4 separate regions of the Homo sapiens genome follow, and all the other regions are linked to region 3. The links are contacts of gene promoters, found by promoter capture Hi-C in blood cells and fetal thymus (Javierre and others, 2016). All regions are on one chromosome and are shown on one strand. The core of a region is centred on a gene start or on the middle of the fragment in contact, and the rest is flanking DNA. Distances in the headings are between cores, read along the strand shown. Region 1 overlaps COL23A1 (collagen type XXIII alpha 1 chain). Region 2 holds the start of LOC124901224 (U4 spliceosomal RNA). Region 3 holds the start of ZNF354B (zinc finger protein 354B). Region 4 overlaps COL23A1 (collagen type XXIII alpha 1 chain).

Region 1 (3,631 bases), core at 592-3,091, 580 kb before region 3:
ACAAGTGTTGAAACCAGCCCTATAAACGTTATAAAGTTAATTAGGGAAGAAGGGAGGGGGAGGAACAAAAATAAACCAAGCTTGTGGCACACTCAGCATCATCATGAGGTCAGCGTGCTCCCTGACCCCTTCTCGGAACTGTTTTCCTGCTGCCTCAGAATCGCGCAGGTTCTCTTACAGGGTCATGGTTCCCCTTAACTGCTCCGTAGATACCAATCTGAACGTAAAAAACTACCTTTTCCCTACTCTTTCAGAGCCTGCACACCAGTGAAACTACAAAGTCAGCTGGTCGGAAGGATCCCACGGGAGCTGATTCACCGGAGTGCGGTCTCCACATCCTGCTGATTTCAGCCCCCCGGTCCTGACCGATCAATGACCCCAATTTTCCAGCCCCTCACCCTCCATGATCCCCTTAAACACCCTGGCCCAGAACTCCTTGGGGGGATGGATTTGAGGGTCTCCTCCATCTCCTTGCTGGGTGCCCTGCAATCATTAAACTCTTTCTCTGCAGCAAACCCTGCTGTCTCAGTGTAATTGGCCTGGTACTAACGCAGCGGGCATTTGAAACTGGTGGTCCTATAACCGTGTGGCTACAGAGGGGAGGTTTCCTGGTGAAGTACATTCGGGATGTGGAGTATGGTGGCTCCATCCCTGGAGTGTCTTGATGCTCATCTGCCGGGAAAAGCCTGTGCTGCTCTTCTTGCTCTATGTTAGGGAAAGGTCCAGGGCTGGCCCTGTCCTCCTGACTGCGGCCCAGCACTCCCCAAGATCGGCTCCAGCATCTGCTGAACTGAACCAAACAAATAAACTGGCCGCGTTTAGAAGCAGACAGGAGTAAACGCTCAAATCGGCCAGAGCTGGGGGCCTGTCTTGCTTTCTGGCTGTAATTAATGCTGACGGTTCCTGTGAGGGAACGGAGCCCTCAAAATGCACTAGGACAAGGCCCCTGGAAGAAGGGCTTACCAGGATTATCAGGCCAGGACCTAGTAATTACACCCCAGATGTTGACAATTCATCAAATTACAAGGCTGGTGGGGCCTGAGGTCCCAGCCTGGGAAGTGCACATTCCTGTGTGAAGGTTCCCTGAGCCTCCTCCCAGCTCTCATTAGAGCCGGCTGGTGGATAAGGGGTGGGTGGGCAGCCCCCTTCAGGGCGGGTCAGCACCATACGGTTCTGATTTCTCAGCCTAGGCTCTTTGTACACACATGGGCTGCAGCAAGACTGTCCGGGGCTTAGCAATTTCCCAAACTCAAATTCTTTGTGCTAGGGAAAGGAAGAAAAGACCCTCAAAGTTAGGTTCAGCCCAGCTGTTGCTGGTGCCTTGAGGGTGGCACAATGTTCCTCCTGGAGCACTTCTTCCTGGGACCTAGGGCATTTTGTAGAGTGGGCTCTGTAGTGACCTATGCACCTCAACTCAGCAAACTGTAGGAGCTTCAGCTGGGTGGGGTCCCAAGCGCTTGCACCAAGGTCAGAGACTTGCCCCTCATGTGCTCCTTGGCCTTGCTTGGGCTGCTGCCCTCTGTGCTGCTCATCTGTAGTGTGAGGGGCTGGAATTGGGCAATGTCTTTCTGGGAGCCAGGTTTTATTTGATCCGTGCAGTTAAAAGAACCCAGACTGGGCATAACGGCTCATGCCCGTAATCCCAGCACTTTGGAAGGTCAATGTAGGAGGATTACCCTGGCTCAGGAGTTTAAGACCAGCCTGGGCAACATAGTGAGACCTCATCTCTAAAAAAAAAAAAAAAAAAGGTTGGGTGTGGTGGCACATGCCTGTAGCTCCCGCTACTCAGGAGGCTGAGGCAGGAGGATTGCTTAAACCGTGGAGGTTGAGGCTGCAGTGAGCTATGATGGCACCACTACACTCCGGCCTGGGTGACAGAGCGAGACTTTGTCTCAAACAAACAAAAAAACAAAGAACCCCAAACCAAATGAATTAGTCACATTTAAAAATTGCAACCTTTTACATAAACGTCCAGAGTTTGGGCTTTTCTTGAAAAGCCGGGAGATCTCGCAGACCCTGGTCCACAGGCTCCACCCTTCCCTGTGGTCTCACGCCTAGCCTGCTGCCCATGGCGAGGTGACTCGCCAGCTCTGCAGGGCATCTGATTTGTAACCCTTGGCCTAGAAAGTCTCCCAGGGCCCTTTCAGCTCTATGATGCTGTGAGGCTGTGAAACCGGCTGGCTTCTATTTTGGGGAGAGGACCTGCTCGGTGATGCCTGAGTGTGCTGGAAGTAATTACATGTATGTCCATGTCACACATCATGGCTAGCAGAGGTGGTGTTTACAGCACTGTGCCTTTGAACCGATCCCAAAAATACCTGCTGAAATGACACATTTGCCCATGACTGGTGGGGAGAGACATGATTACCCTGTCAGGTATCAGAAAATACTGTTCCTCATTAAGGTGGCAGAGAGGAAAGAGCTTGACCCCCGTGGGGTGAGGGAGGATGGAGGATGGGACCGGCGGGCCGGGATGTGTCTGACTGAGCTGCCCAGGTCACCAGCTCAGGCACAGAGGGCTGTTCTGGTGGAAGGAAGTCTGGGGGAACACACCATCAGCTCATTTTGGTGCCAGCCGTGGATGGGGTGGAAATCCAGAGTAGGGAGCAGCAGCTGACGGGAAGTGTGACCTTCACAGAAGGGTGACCGCCACAGCGTGGCCAAACTCCACGAGGCAGTCTAGAGGGAGACAGCGTGACCAGGACAGCTCGCAGCACACACTGAAGCTGCAGTCACTCTGCCTCGCCCTGTGGCCCCTGGACCATGCCCAGGCCAAGCTCTGCCCTCCTGCCCCACCCTTGGGGCATGGTTGGTTTCCCAGCCTCCCTGAGAGCTGCCCCCTAGGCTGTGGGGTGGGCCCTCCTTGGTTTCCACAGACAATTGTCACCCACTGGTAAAGAACTGGTTGAAACCCTTAAAAATGCAAAGGATTTTTATAGAATTTGGATTTCCAGCTTCTCTGGAAATGTTGGAAGATGTGGTAGTGATGACTGCATGTGCGGAACTGCACCCCGATGGGGCGGGTGCCCCGATTCACCCCAGGCCCTGCCGTTTTCTCTGCTCTCCTGCGCCCAACCAGCCTCATCTATTTTCTCACTTGCCGGCGGCTGCAAGCGTCAGTGAGCCCGTGAGCCTGCAATTCTAGCTCAGGTCCATCTCTCCAGTCCTCCCACCCTCCTGGGCCAGCCTCCGCCAGGCCCCCTACCTCCTGCCCCACATACCCATCCTTCCTGCACAGTGAAGGAGCAGGGTACATCCTGATGATGAGGTCCTGCCCCGTAGACCTGGGAGTGAGCTGCTGAATTTCCCTGGAGCGCGTTTCCTCCTCTGCAAACTGAGTGTGTTGCGGATGGAATGGCTCCCTGGATCTGGGCTCACAGCAGGCAGCAGGGGAAGGGTGGGTTAATGAGAGCAGCTGTGACGCGCTGGGCCAGCCCTGGGGTAAATGAAGCCAGGGAACAGAGTGGAGCTGAAGCAATGTGGGCCCTTCCCTCCCTATCTAGATGTCACTGGCCCTGACCACAGACCGGCCAGGCAGAAGCCTCATCATCCCCATTTCACAGATGAAGATCTGGAGCTCGGAGAGGCCAGGACACCAGCCCAAAGCTTTGCTCGAGCCCTGTGCCCTGCC
Region 2 (4,115 bases), core at 1,564-4,063, 630 kb after region 3:
AAAATTATACAAGCATAAGACATTGTTAAATTCAGTCACTTCACAAAAACATGTAAAGTTGGACTCCAAATGCCAGAGGATCCATGGAATCTAACTGTTCTGCCTCTTCTCCCCTACATGAAGCTTCCTCAAGGGCAAGCATCTTGTCCTATTCATCTTTGCGTCACTGGGCCCAAGCACATAGTAGATAATCAACAAATCTTTATTGAATAGATGGGTTGTGGAAACTGACAGCCACAGATTAAACGCAGAAGAAGGCACTAGTGCACATGATCGGGACTGCTCACTTTATTTAACAAGAATCACCATAGTGATGAGAGATGTGTGAGGGAAACGGCACTGCGGTTGCCAACAGCAGCAGGCTGGGGCCAACGGGCTCCCGGAGGCAAAGCCTGGACCATTTCTGAATGAGGGGCTCATCATCGCCTAGAACTTTATGCTTTGTGTGTGTGGGGGGGGGTTCTTTTTGTAAAATTGTATTCATTTTAACAGCAAATGTTGAAAATGTTTCAATATGCATTCTCCCCTAAAATGTGTAGTTATAAGATAAGAGACTTGGTTTTCTTGCCATTTTTCCTTTGCTGATTAAAAAGAAGAAAAAATAAAAAAAAAAACAGGAAATGAAATCTGGTTTATATATAATTTGTCACACATGTAAGATATCCAACTTTGTAAGCACTCCAAGTTTTCATTAACTCTGCTAAAATATATTTACATTAAGAAATTTCCCAGCCCTAATGTCATTAGTTTCAAACTTCCAAACTCAGTTGTTTTGCTAAAAACGCAGATCAGGGCCAGATGGAGGAACAAGCACCCCTGATTGACCTCCCTCCGAACCAAAATCCCATAAATGACAGAAATATCTTCCTTAATTAGAAGTAGCACAAAAGGGAAAGAAAGGGGAAGGAAATGCATCATGTTCTGGGAATAAATCAGCAAGGTCACCAGCATCGCACAGCATTTGCCCCCAGTTGATATAGAAAGTGCGAATACTTGGTCCAGAGAAGAAAGACAGTCTCCCCAGGAATCACTGACTCCCTGTCCCTGAGAAGGACAGGGAACTCATGGCCAGGTGTGGTGGCTCACGCCTGTAATCCCAGCACTTTGGGAGGCCGAGGTGGGTGGATCATGAGGTCAGGAGATCAAGATCATCCTGGCTAACACAGTGAAACCCTGTGTTTACTAAAACAATACAAAAAAAATTAGCCGGGCATGGTGGCGGGTGCCTGTAGCCCCAGCTACTCGGGAGGCTGAGGCAAGAGAATGGCGTGAACCCAGGAGGCAGAGCTTGCAGTGAGCCGAGATTGCACCACTGCACTCCAGCCTGGGCAACAGAGAGAGACTCCGTCTCAAAATAAATTAATTAAATAAAGCGGGAGGCTGAGACAGTCACTTGAGGCTAGGAGTTCAAGACCAGCCTGGCCAACATGGCAAAACCCCTTATCTACTAAAAATACAAGAATTAGCCTGGCATGGTGGCGCACCTGTAATCCCAGCTACTTGGGAGGCTGAGGCAGGAGAATCACTTGAAGCCAGGAGGCGGAGGTTGCAGTGATCTGAGATCACCCCACTGCACTCTAGCTTGGATGACAAAGCAAGACTCCATCTCAAAAAAAAAAAAAAAGTAAAGTGGAATTTTAGAAATCTAGGCACATTGCAGCAAAATTTTGGAATACCAAGGAAAAAAGGAAAATCCTCATAGTTTTCTGACCGAGAGAATAGGTTGTCACAATAGAATGAAAGTCAGCTTGACATCAAGACTTATCATCAATCCCGAATCCTAAAAGATAGTAGAGCAATTTCTCTAACATTCCAAAGAAAAAACTATTCGTAATCTAGGATCCAAGACCCAGCCAATCTAGCCTTAAATTGGGGGTGCAAAATAAAGACATTTTCATGCATATATGGGTTCATCCCACCTATAAACTCCCCCCAAAGAATCTAAGAAAATAAAAGAGATCAACTACAGTAAGTGCTGGAGGGAGAAATAAAGACAGAGATGATGCACTAAACTGGTCTTAAAAATATGAAACTAAAGTCTCCAATGAGCTCAGTGTGGTAGGGAATTGGTCCCAGGCGGGCAGGAGCAGCGGCGAGAGAACGGCGATTAAATTCACATTCCCAGTGCGGGCAGGACTGTCCCAAAGCAAGAACAGAGCTTTCTGCAAATGATCCGGTCAGACCTGTCTCACTTCTGAAAACAACCTCATTGGGATTTCTAATAAACTGGACTGATTCACTAAATAATTGGACTAGCAAACCAAACCAGTTTTACCTTTTTTTTTTTTTTTTGAGACAGAATCTCGCTCTGTCGCCCAGGCTGGAGTGTAGTGGCATGATCTCAGCTCACTGCAAGCTCCGCCTCCCGGGTTCACGCCATTCTCCTGCCTCAGCCTCCCGAGTAGCTGGGTCTACAGGTGCCCGCCACCACGCCTGGCTAATTTTTTGTATTTTTAGTAGAGACAGGGCTTCACCGTGTTAGCCAGGATGGTCTCCATCTCCTGACCTTGTGATCTGCCCACCTCGGCCTCCCAAAGTGCTGGAATTACAGGCGTCAGCCACAAAGCTCTTTCTCTTAACTTACATTGTCAGGAAACTGGTAACATAGATTGAATGACCCGCCCCAGTTTTTCACCCACACTCACACCCTCGCCATAGCCTCCCTTTCCCACCCCTTGACTTTGGGCTTGGCCAAAGGGATGCCAGCAGGCATGACACAGCAAAACTGGAAATGTGTTTGTGGGGTTAGATGTGCCGTCTCTCAGGGCCCTGCCATCAGCCAGAGACGAAACTGCCCCTGCTGGTCCCAGGAAGAGGATGAGAGGCATGTGGAGCAGAGCTGCCCAGCCAACCCACAAACTCATGAGTAAGAAATAAATGATTATTACTGTTTGCCACTGAGATGTGGGGATGGTTTGTTACACAGCATAAGTGTGACAATAGCTAACTGATACTCAGAGGGCAAGTGCCACTGCAGCAAACATGAGGAGGAATTCCTGAGCCTTTATATTAAAGTGGCTGCTCTCACTAGAGACACGATTGGACTCTGGCTGGTGCGATGACTCACACCTGCAGTCCCAACACTTGGGAGGCCAAGAGCAGAGGATTGCTTGAGCCCAGGAGTTTGAAAGCAGGCTGGGCAATGGATCAAGACTCCATCTCTACAACAACAACAACAAAAACACAGTGTTTTGAACTGAAGGAGCCATACAAAGGATGTCATACAGATTTATTAAATTCAAAACCAGGCTGGGCACGGTGGCTCACACCTGTAATCCCAGCACTTTGGGAGGCAGAGGTGGGCGGATTACCCGAGGTCAGAAGTTCAAGACCAGCCTGGTCAACATGGTGAAACCCCGTCTCTACTAAAAATACAAAAATTAGTCAGGCGTGGTGGTGCACGCCTCTAATCCCAGCTACTTGGGAGGCTGAGGCAGGAGAATTGATTGAACCTAGGAGGTGGAAGTTGCAGTGAGTCAGGATTGCGCCACTGCACTCGAGCCTGGGCGACAAGAGCGAAAGTCAGTTAAAAAAAAATCCAGAAAAACTACTTTTCTGGAATGCAAATCAGAATAGTGGCTGCTTGGGGATTAGGGGACAAGGGAAGTTGAGTAGACTGTAAAGGGATTGGGGGGAATTTTCTACAATGGTGGCAATGTTTTCTGCCTTGATTGGGGTGTTGGCTACAGATAGATATTTGTAAAAAGCCATTGAATTATATATTTAAGATCTGTGTGTTTTACTAAACTATTCCTCAATTTTTCAATTAGCAATAATCACGCCTCGGATAAACCTCATTGGCTATGATACTGCCACTGCACAAAGCTATTCCTCAATTTTTAAAAACATGTCTGTATGGAGTGGATACCCAGACCAGGGTGAGGCTGAGGTGCAAACAGGCCTACCTGAGGTGCCGGGCAGCCTTCCAAGACTCCAAGACTAGGTGGGCTCTGGGCAGACAAAGCCTCCCTCTCACAAAAGGTCTGGGAACCCTTTTCAGGGGGCTCAGAGTCCGGCCACATCTCTAGGTTTTCTGACGTCCTAGACACACCATGAGAAAGAACTTTGACTGGGCTCTCAATCTGGTTGGTGACCTAGGATATGGGGCTCATACC
Region 3 (3,984 bases), core at 729-3,228:
ACAACAAGGATTCTGGCTTTCACTCTAATTGCAAAGAGAAGACAATAAAACATCTCATTTTTGTTAAAAAATCTTTTTTACACCAGGCATAGTGGCTCACGCCTGTAATCCCAGCACTTTGGGAGGCCGAGGCGGGAGGATCACTTGAGCCTAGGCGTTTGAGACCAGCCTGGGCAACATAGTGAGACCCCGTCTCTCAAAAACAAAAACAAACAACAACAACAACAACAAAAAAAAACAGAAGCAGCAGCTTGTGGAAGTGTAGAGTAGTGTAGAGAGAGATAACAGGGCCTTGCACTGGGCAAGCAACCATGGAAGGACACCTGCAGTTCATGGCAACAGGGTGGGCGTGGCTCTACAAGTAAGGGACAGTTGTGCCATATGGAATTACCTATATGGGAAGATTGGTAATTAACACACAGGGAAATCACCATGCTACTTTCTTCTATGATTTTGACTATTTTAGATTCTACGTGTAAATGAAATAATGCAGTATTTGTATTTCTGTGCCTTCTTTATTTCACTTAACATAATGTCCTCCGGGTTCATCCATATTGTCACATATGTCAGGATTTCTTTATTTTTTTAAGGCAGAATAATATTCCTTTGTGTATATAAACACATTGTGGCCGGGCTCGGTGGCTCACGCCTGTAATCCGAGCACTTTGGGAGGCCGAGGAGGGTGGATCACGAGGTCAGAAGTTCAAGACCAGCCTGGTGAAGATGGTGAAACCCCATCTCTATTAAAACTACAAAAATTAGCTGGGCGTGGTCGCGGGTGCCTGTAATCCCTGCTACTTGGGAGACTGAGGCAGAGAACTGCTTGAACCTGGAAGGCGGAGGTGGCAGTGAGCCAAGATTGCGCCATTGCACTCCAGCCTGGGTGACAGAGCAAGACACCGTCCCAAACAAACAAACAAACAAAACATTTCCTTTATCTATTCATCCATCAACAGATAGTTGTTTCCATATCTTGGCCATGGTGAATAATGTTGCAGCTAACATGGGAGTGCAGGTATCTCACGGAGTTTCACTTCCTCTGGATCTATAGCCAGAAATGGGATTGGTGGATCCTAATGTAGCTCTAGTTATAATTTTTTGAGGAACCTCTATACCGTTTTCTGTAATGATTGTACCAATTTACATCCTTTTGATAGTGGCCATCCTAATGGAGGTGCAGTGATTTCTCATTGAGTTTGGGTTTATATTTCTCTTATACCTAGAGATGTTTACCATCTTTTTATATGCTTGTTGCTCATTGCTCATTTGTATATCTTCATTGGAGAATTGCCTATTCAAGTCCTTTGTCCATTTTAAAATCAGGTTATTTGGTTTTGTTATTGTTGTTGAGTTGTAAAAGTTCCATATAAATCCAGGATACATTGCAAATCAGATATATGATATGTAAGCATTTTCGTCTATTCTGTAGATTGCCTTTGTTTCCTTTGATTAGCCAAAGTTTTTAAGTTTGATGTAGTCCCATTTGTCTATTTTTGCTGTTATCTGTGCTTCTGATGTCATATTCAAGAAATCATTGCCATCTCCAACATCCTGAAGTTTTTTCCCTTTTTACTTTAGTAATTTATAAAATAATTTGGTCTCACATTTAGGTTTTTAATCAATTTTGAGTTAATTTTTATGTATGGTGTACGGTCAGGGTACAGGCTCATCTTTTGCACGTGGAAATCCAGCTTTGTCAACATCTTTTGCAGGGGATTTTCCTTTCCCAATTGTGTAGTAGTTGTTTTCGTGCCGCCCACGCCATCCTGAAATTCACACACAGAGTTGCAAGTTACTGCCCTCCGGGAACCTCCCCTTCTCTTCCGAAGAACCAGGAACCCGGGGCTCTACAGCTCACCCGGGCCCTCTCATAGGTCTGGGCGCCTAACAGCTCAGCTGCGACCTCGCCTCAAACGCGTGGAACTACACTTCCCAGAAAGCCAGCGTCCTCCCGTGGACTCCATTTCCTAGAGGCCTTAGCGGCCGCCTTGCTCCTCTAGGTCCCAGGCGCTCTGCGGAGCTTTCGCTGCCCGGTGAGCGGCGCCGGGCTTGAGGTCGCCCAGACGTCGGAGGAGCCGGGTCACGAGGCTGGAGCTTCCTGCTTGCAGAGTGCGGCGGGGAGGCGCGGCCCGGGAACGCGGGATCCTGGGGAGGTGAGCGGCATGGCTGGCTGTGCCGGGAGGAGGCGGCGCCTGGCGCCAGGGCGACCTGAGGCCGCGGGGCTCCGAGGGCCTCTGTGGGCGCGGGGGGGCACCCCCGCGTCTGTCACCGGCCCCCGCGCCAGGACTTGGACTCTCGCCCCTCACGGGCCGCTCCGGTGCCGCTGCCGACGCCCCTGCCTCTGGCTCGCGCCGCCCGCCGTGAACGCGGGGCCAGGCGTTTCCTCCCGGGCCCACCCTGCGCGCGCCGTGTGGGCCTCGCGGACTCGGGGCGCCGGGACCCCGAGCGCAGGGCAGAGGCAGCCGGGCCCGGTTTCTGAGTCAGTCCCCAGGACGGCCACTCCTCCTGCCTCGGGACACCCAGCGCTTTCCTCTTCAAAGCCGTTTTCCGTGGAGTCGGGAGACGATTCGTTGGCGGGAGAGAGAGGAACCGGCTGGGAAAGGCTTGAGGCGGAGGGAAGTCGTCCCGGGGCCGTCGTGGTGGGAGTCCCGGCCCGCCTCGCAGCGGCGTGAACGGGGCAGGTGCCCCGGCGCTGCCTCAGTTTCCTGAGCGGTGCAGTGGGTGCTGGCAGTGCCAGCTGGCGCCGAGGAACTCAGCGGCGTGGGGCGAGCCCTGGCCCTGGTGGGCTCAGCGGGTCGCTGCTGCCACTGCGGGTCCAGCGTCCCCTCCGTAAGCCCCAAGCCTGTGGGGCCTGGGCCTGGCCGGGCGGCCCAGCGCTGCTCTGGTCCGCGGGCTCCTGGCTCCTCCCGAATCCCTGTGAGGGCGCGCGGGGTCCTTCTCAGCGGGAGTCGGGGTTTTAGAGCTGCGGATTCCAGGGCTGGAAAGCAGAAGGGGTTCTTCCTGGCTCCCTTTTTCTTCTCAGATCTGCCTTCTGGAGACTGCGCCGTCCTCCCGGGAGAGCCAGAAAGAGGACATGGCTGCTGGGCAGCGGGAAGCGAGGCCCCAGGTGAGCTCATTGCCCTCCCAGATCCCAGTGGATGGATTTTCCCCACTAACTGGAGTTCTTCACCCGGGACCATCTCCAGCCAGGATGGAGCCCAAGTCCTTTTCTCTTGGAGGAGCTGGTCCGCCCTCATGACTGGTGGATTCTGTAGGGAGGACCACCCACCCTCCCCACCCGTGTCTAGTGGTTTTTAATTAACAGTTTGTTCACGAATCTTCATCCATTGTGTGACTAGTTTGACAAGTAAGATACCACAAGTCTGTCTGTCACTAAGAGCAAACGTACACACGTGGGAAAAATCCCTGCCTCCTCCACTCACCCATGTCTCCGTTCCTGTCCTTCGCAGGAATACTTTCTCTTTTCACCCCTGAGAATCCTCATAACACCACCCCTTCCCCAGGCTTCTCCAACGCATCGTTGTTAGTTTTTTGTCCCTCTTAACTTTGTGAATCATATTCTTTGCTTGTATCACTGTCTTGAAATCTATTGTAGACCGTTTTCATTTTTGTGTAGTGGGAATGAGGAGGCCACCCTTTCTAGTTGAGACGAGAGTGAACAGAGTTGGAGAGGTCGCTTGACTCGCAGGACACAGAAGACCCCTCAGCTAGCGGCAGGAAGGGTTTCATGGGATAGCAATAGTGCAGAGGCAGCGTAGGTGGTAGTTAGGAAGTAGGGCTGTTAAGCCAGATGGCAGCGTTTTAACCCATCTCCTCTGTTGCTGTTTGTGGGCCTTGGGCTTCACCTCTCTGTGCCTCAGTTTTCTCACCTGTAAAATGGGAATAACAGCCGTGCCCACCTCCCAGCGTAGATGAAGGGATCACATGAGTTAGTGTGTGGAAAGTGTTCGGATCAGGGCTGGGCACTGAGTAGTTACTGCTCAG
Region 4 (3,643 bases), core at 606-3,105, 550 kb before region 3:
CCACTCCACTGCTTCCACCAACAGAGAGGCCAGGCGGGCTTGGAGACTGGATTGCAGGAGCCGCAGGAGTGGGGGCAGGACGGACGGCCTCTCCTGAGTCTCTGGACTATCAGGTGCCGAGAGCCCACCATGGGCAGTGACCTGGGTTCAACATCTACTGGGTGCCAAGCCGGCTGCTCACCCAGTGAGCATGAACTTGGGACCCTTTTCCTCCAGGACTCCCTGTGCCCGCCCCGCAGGCTCACCTTCTGCCTCGCCAGTCCTCTGAAGAAGGTGCTAGTGTTCCCTGCACAGATGAGAACTCTGGGGCTAAGCCAGGTGAAGGGGCCCACCTAAGGCTGTGTTGCTAGAGCCTCCTGGAGCCCTTCATAGTCTGTGGCTCCCAAGTGCAAGGACAGTTGTGTCCCATATGCTGAGCTACCGGGCAGGCGGCCTTGGCGACCAGGGAGGCTGTTCCTCTGGGGATGTGGTCCCTTTGCTGGGGCTGGCTGTGCCCCAGGGCATCTGGGCCTGGTGTGGAGCAGGTTGCCCCGGCCCCTGGGAGAGCAGGGCCAGCTTGGCTGCAGCTAAGACCTGGCTCCAACAAGCAAAACCAGGCCTTTGGCCAGGTGGTTGGCCTCAGAGTTTTTGCTTGTTTCTTGTTTTTCTTCTTTCTACAAGCAGAAGAACCTTTCCTGCTGCTGCCTGAGACTCAGACACTCAGGAAGGCACTGGGAGTCTGTCTTGATTGATCTGCTCATGTGGAGAAGGGGAAACTGAGGCTGCAAGGGATAGGACAGGTCTTGCCCACGGATGCTGCTGGAAAACTTGTCCCAGCTAGAGGGTCTAGCGCTGAAGACCACCTTGGGCTGGGAGAAGGCCACTGTCCCCCACTCTGCATGGGACCCACACGGCTCTGAGCTAGGGGCTGGCTGCTGGGGAACGACAGTATTTCACCGTGGGTGCCACCACAGTGGCATCTGCAAAACTTCTTTTCAGAGGCTGGGGCGAGGGGTATGCCAGAGCAGGAGGGGAAGAACCTGACTGGTGGGGAAGCTGTGTCTTCTGAGCAACTTACTCAACCTCATTGAACCTTAGAGTTTCCAACTCGGGAGGATAGAGGTTTGGGAGTGGTGGCAACTAGACTTGCCTTGCGGAATCATGAACCAGATGAGCTGGCAGCAGACACACCAGCCTGGGGTACAAAAGGGGTGCTTCTTTGGGACCCCAAGAAATAACTGGCTGCAGGGGCCTCTGGGCCATCACAATGCGGGGCTTTAATGTAAGTGGGTTCTTTCCTCTGTGTGTGTGTGTGTGTGTGTGCGCGTGTGTGTGTGTGTGTGTGTGTAATGCGGGGCTTTAATGTAAGTGGGTTCTTTCGTGTGTGTGTGTGTGTCAGGGTCTCACTCTGTCACCCAGGCTGGAGTGGCGTGATCACAGTTCACTGCAGCTTCACACGTCTGGGCTCAAGTGATCATCCCACCATGGCCTCCCAAAGCGTTGGGATTATAGGCCTGAGCCACTGTGTAACTGTTTTTTGTTTTGTTTTGTTTTGTTTTTTTTTTGAGACGGAGTCTCACTCTGTTGCCCAGGCTGGAGTGCAGTGGCGTGATCTCGGCTCACCGCAACCTCCGCCTCCCAGGTTCAAGCGACTCCTCTGCCTCAGCCTCCCGAGCTGCTGGGACCACAGGCACGCGCCACCATGCCTGGCTAATTTTTGTATTTTTAGTAGAGACCGAGTTTCACCATGTTGGCCAGGCTGGTCTCGAACTCCTGACCTCAGGTGATCCACCTGCCTCGGCCTCCCAAAGTGCTGGGATTACAGGTGTGGGCTACCGCGCCCGGCCTGCGTAACTGGTTCTTATGAGTCCCCAGGTGGGTGAAGCTGGAGACACAGTGACTGCACCTCAGCAACACTGCAGGCAGGTTCGAGGTGCTGAGACGCCGACGGAGCCCTTGACTGCACTTTGAGCAAAGTGCAAGGGCAGCCCCGTGGGAAGCCGGGAGCTTTCCCGTGTCCCTAATCACTGCCTGTCTGTGAACCTCTGGATGAGAATGCAGAGGCTGAGCTCTTTGGGAATGAGGTTTCTCAATGAAATTTCAGGGTGCCAGGTCTAGCACAGGCCAGCCAGGGCTCCAGCTCGTTGCCCAATGACTCTGGACGTCTGAGAGCAGCATCAGCACAGTAAACAACTCCAGGGAGGCCTACGGCTTTCTCAGCACTGTTGGAGGCCAGACAAAAGGAAACCATTTCTAACTCATAAAAATCTCATCTCTGGTTGGGGTGGAGAACTCACGCCGCTGATCAACTCCAAAGGGGGGCCTCGAACCCCAACAGGCTTCCTCTGAGGCCTGAGCTGCAAGGATTTGGCTCTCTAAGTGGCTCCCCCCGCCCAGCCCTCCCGGCACCTCCCTCCCCAAGGACGTCCCCTCTAGCAATGCCCGTCTTATCAAGGTCCCTTCACAAACCTGCAGCCACCCCACCTCAGCCGCACTGGGGACAGCCTGCCCAGGCCTCTCCCTCTCACCCTACTGGCCTGGCTGCTTCCTGTGGGCTCCTGACTGGTTGCTCCGCCCTCAGCCCAACCCTGATCCTCCCTTCAGCCAGCCCCTGAGGACAGGGGGTTCATGGAATCCACACAACAGTCTGTGAAGTGCTTTCATTTCTCTCTACTCTTTTCTTCCTATAGATCAGGGGAACTGAGCCCCACAGAAGTCAAGAATTACTACCAGGCGCAACAGCCAAAAGGTGGAAGCAACCCAAACGTCCACGGACAGAAGAATGAGCAAACAGAACGTGCACTGATACAGCGGGACGTGAGTCAGCCCTGGAGAGGAAGGAGTTCCTGCGCACGCTGCAGCATGATGGGCCTGGAGGACGTCACGCGATGGGAAGTAAGCCAGACACAGAAAGACAAATACGGAAGGATTCCACTTCTGGAGGCTCCTGCAGTCGCCAGATTCACAGGGGCAGAAGGTGGAATAGGGGGTGCCATCGGTGGGCTGGGCTAGGGGAGGCGAGACTGGGAAGTCGGTGGGCCCAGAGACTCCGTTTTGCAACATGAAGAGTTCTGGAGAGGGATGGTGGTGGTGACGGGTGCGTGACAATGTGAACATACTGAATGCCACTCAAGTGTACACTTAAGGATGGTTAAGACGGGAAATGTTATGGTATGTGTATTTTATCACAATTAAAGAAAACAAAACAAACACCCCAGGGGTCTCAGCTACCCCTGAGCGAGGCTGTGAGCCGGGCCGTCCTGATGGAGACTGTGGGGATGCTGCTGGCAGCCACAGCAGTGTCCCGTGTGAGGAGCCCGGCACTGTGGAGTCACAGAGGATGGCATCCCCAAGGTCACACAGTGGAGAAATGGCGGAACTGGAACTGGAACCCGGGTCTGTGTGACTTCGGAGTCTGTCCCCTGAACATCTGTGTGTGATTTCCAGTGTGACCATGGCCAAGATTTTCTCATCCCACCACGTGTCGAGTGTCCCTTCAGACCTGGTCCTTCTCAACACCACTGGAAGCCCCTTTATATGACCCTCTTCCCAGAACTTTGGGAGGAAGTGGGGTGAGATGGCCTGAATCCTCCCAGACCTTCAGTCTGGAGCTCTATGAGATTGCTGGGGCTTCAGGGCCATCAGGGGGTGCACCTTGAGCAGA

The links. Contacts are between HindIII fragments. The CHiCAGO score rates a contact against its expected background, and 5 or more counts as called.
Region 1: a contact is called between a fragment that was not itself captured here and the fragment with the promoter of ZNF354B in region 3, in 1 of 17 cell types (monocytes). The highest score is 5.0, in monocytes.
Region 2: a contact is called between a fragment that was not itself captured here and the fragment with the promoter of ZNF354B in region 3, in 3 of 17 cell types (endothelial precursors, M1 macrophages and M2 macrophages). The highest score is 10.4, in endothelial precursors.
Region 4: a fragment that was not itself captured here is called in contact with the fragment with the promoter of ZNF354B in region 3 in 1 of 17 cell types (neutrophils); the score reaches 5.1 in neutrophils.

The regions. Positions count from the first base shown.
Region 1 is chr5:178,275,472-178,279,102 of GRCh38, forward strand. The region is part of intron 5 of COL23A1 (collagen type XXIII alpha 1 chain); the gene reads right to left. Among named protein-coding and RNA genes, the nearest start is that of PHYKPL, 44 kb to the left of the region's middle. The HindIII fragment of the contact is 3,526 bases long and covers 79-3,604 here.
Region 2 is chr5:179,488,331-179,492,445 of GRCh38, forward strand. LOC124901224 (U4 spliceosomal RNA) reads right to left here and starts at 3,827; the gene lies at 3,685-3,827. The HindIII fragment of the contact is 5,384 bases long and covers 122-4,115 here.
Region 3 is chr5:178,857,975-178,861,958 of GRCh38, forward strand. It overlaps ZNF354B (zinc finger protein 354B), which reads left to right and starts at 1,979. Exons shown (of 5, transcript NM_058230.3): 1 at 1,979-2,153; 2 at 3,023-3,106. The coding sequence starts at 3,074. RefSeq lists enhancers at 1,829-2,561, 1,846-2,045 and silencers at 2,186-2,385, 2,466-2,545. The HindIII fragment of the contact is 7,869 bases long and covers 1-3,984 here.
Region 4 is chr5:178,310,205-178,313,847 of GRCh38, forward strand. All of the region lies in intron 2 of COL23A1 (collagen type XXIII alpha 1 chain), which reads right to left. Among named protein-coding and RNA genes, the nearest start is that of PHYKPL, 79 kb to the left of the region's middle. RefSeq lists an enhancer at 2,405-2,907. The HindIII fragment of the contact is 6,207 bases long and covers 1-3,643 here.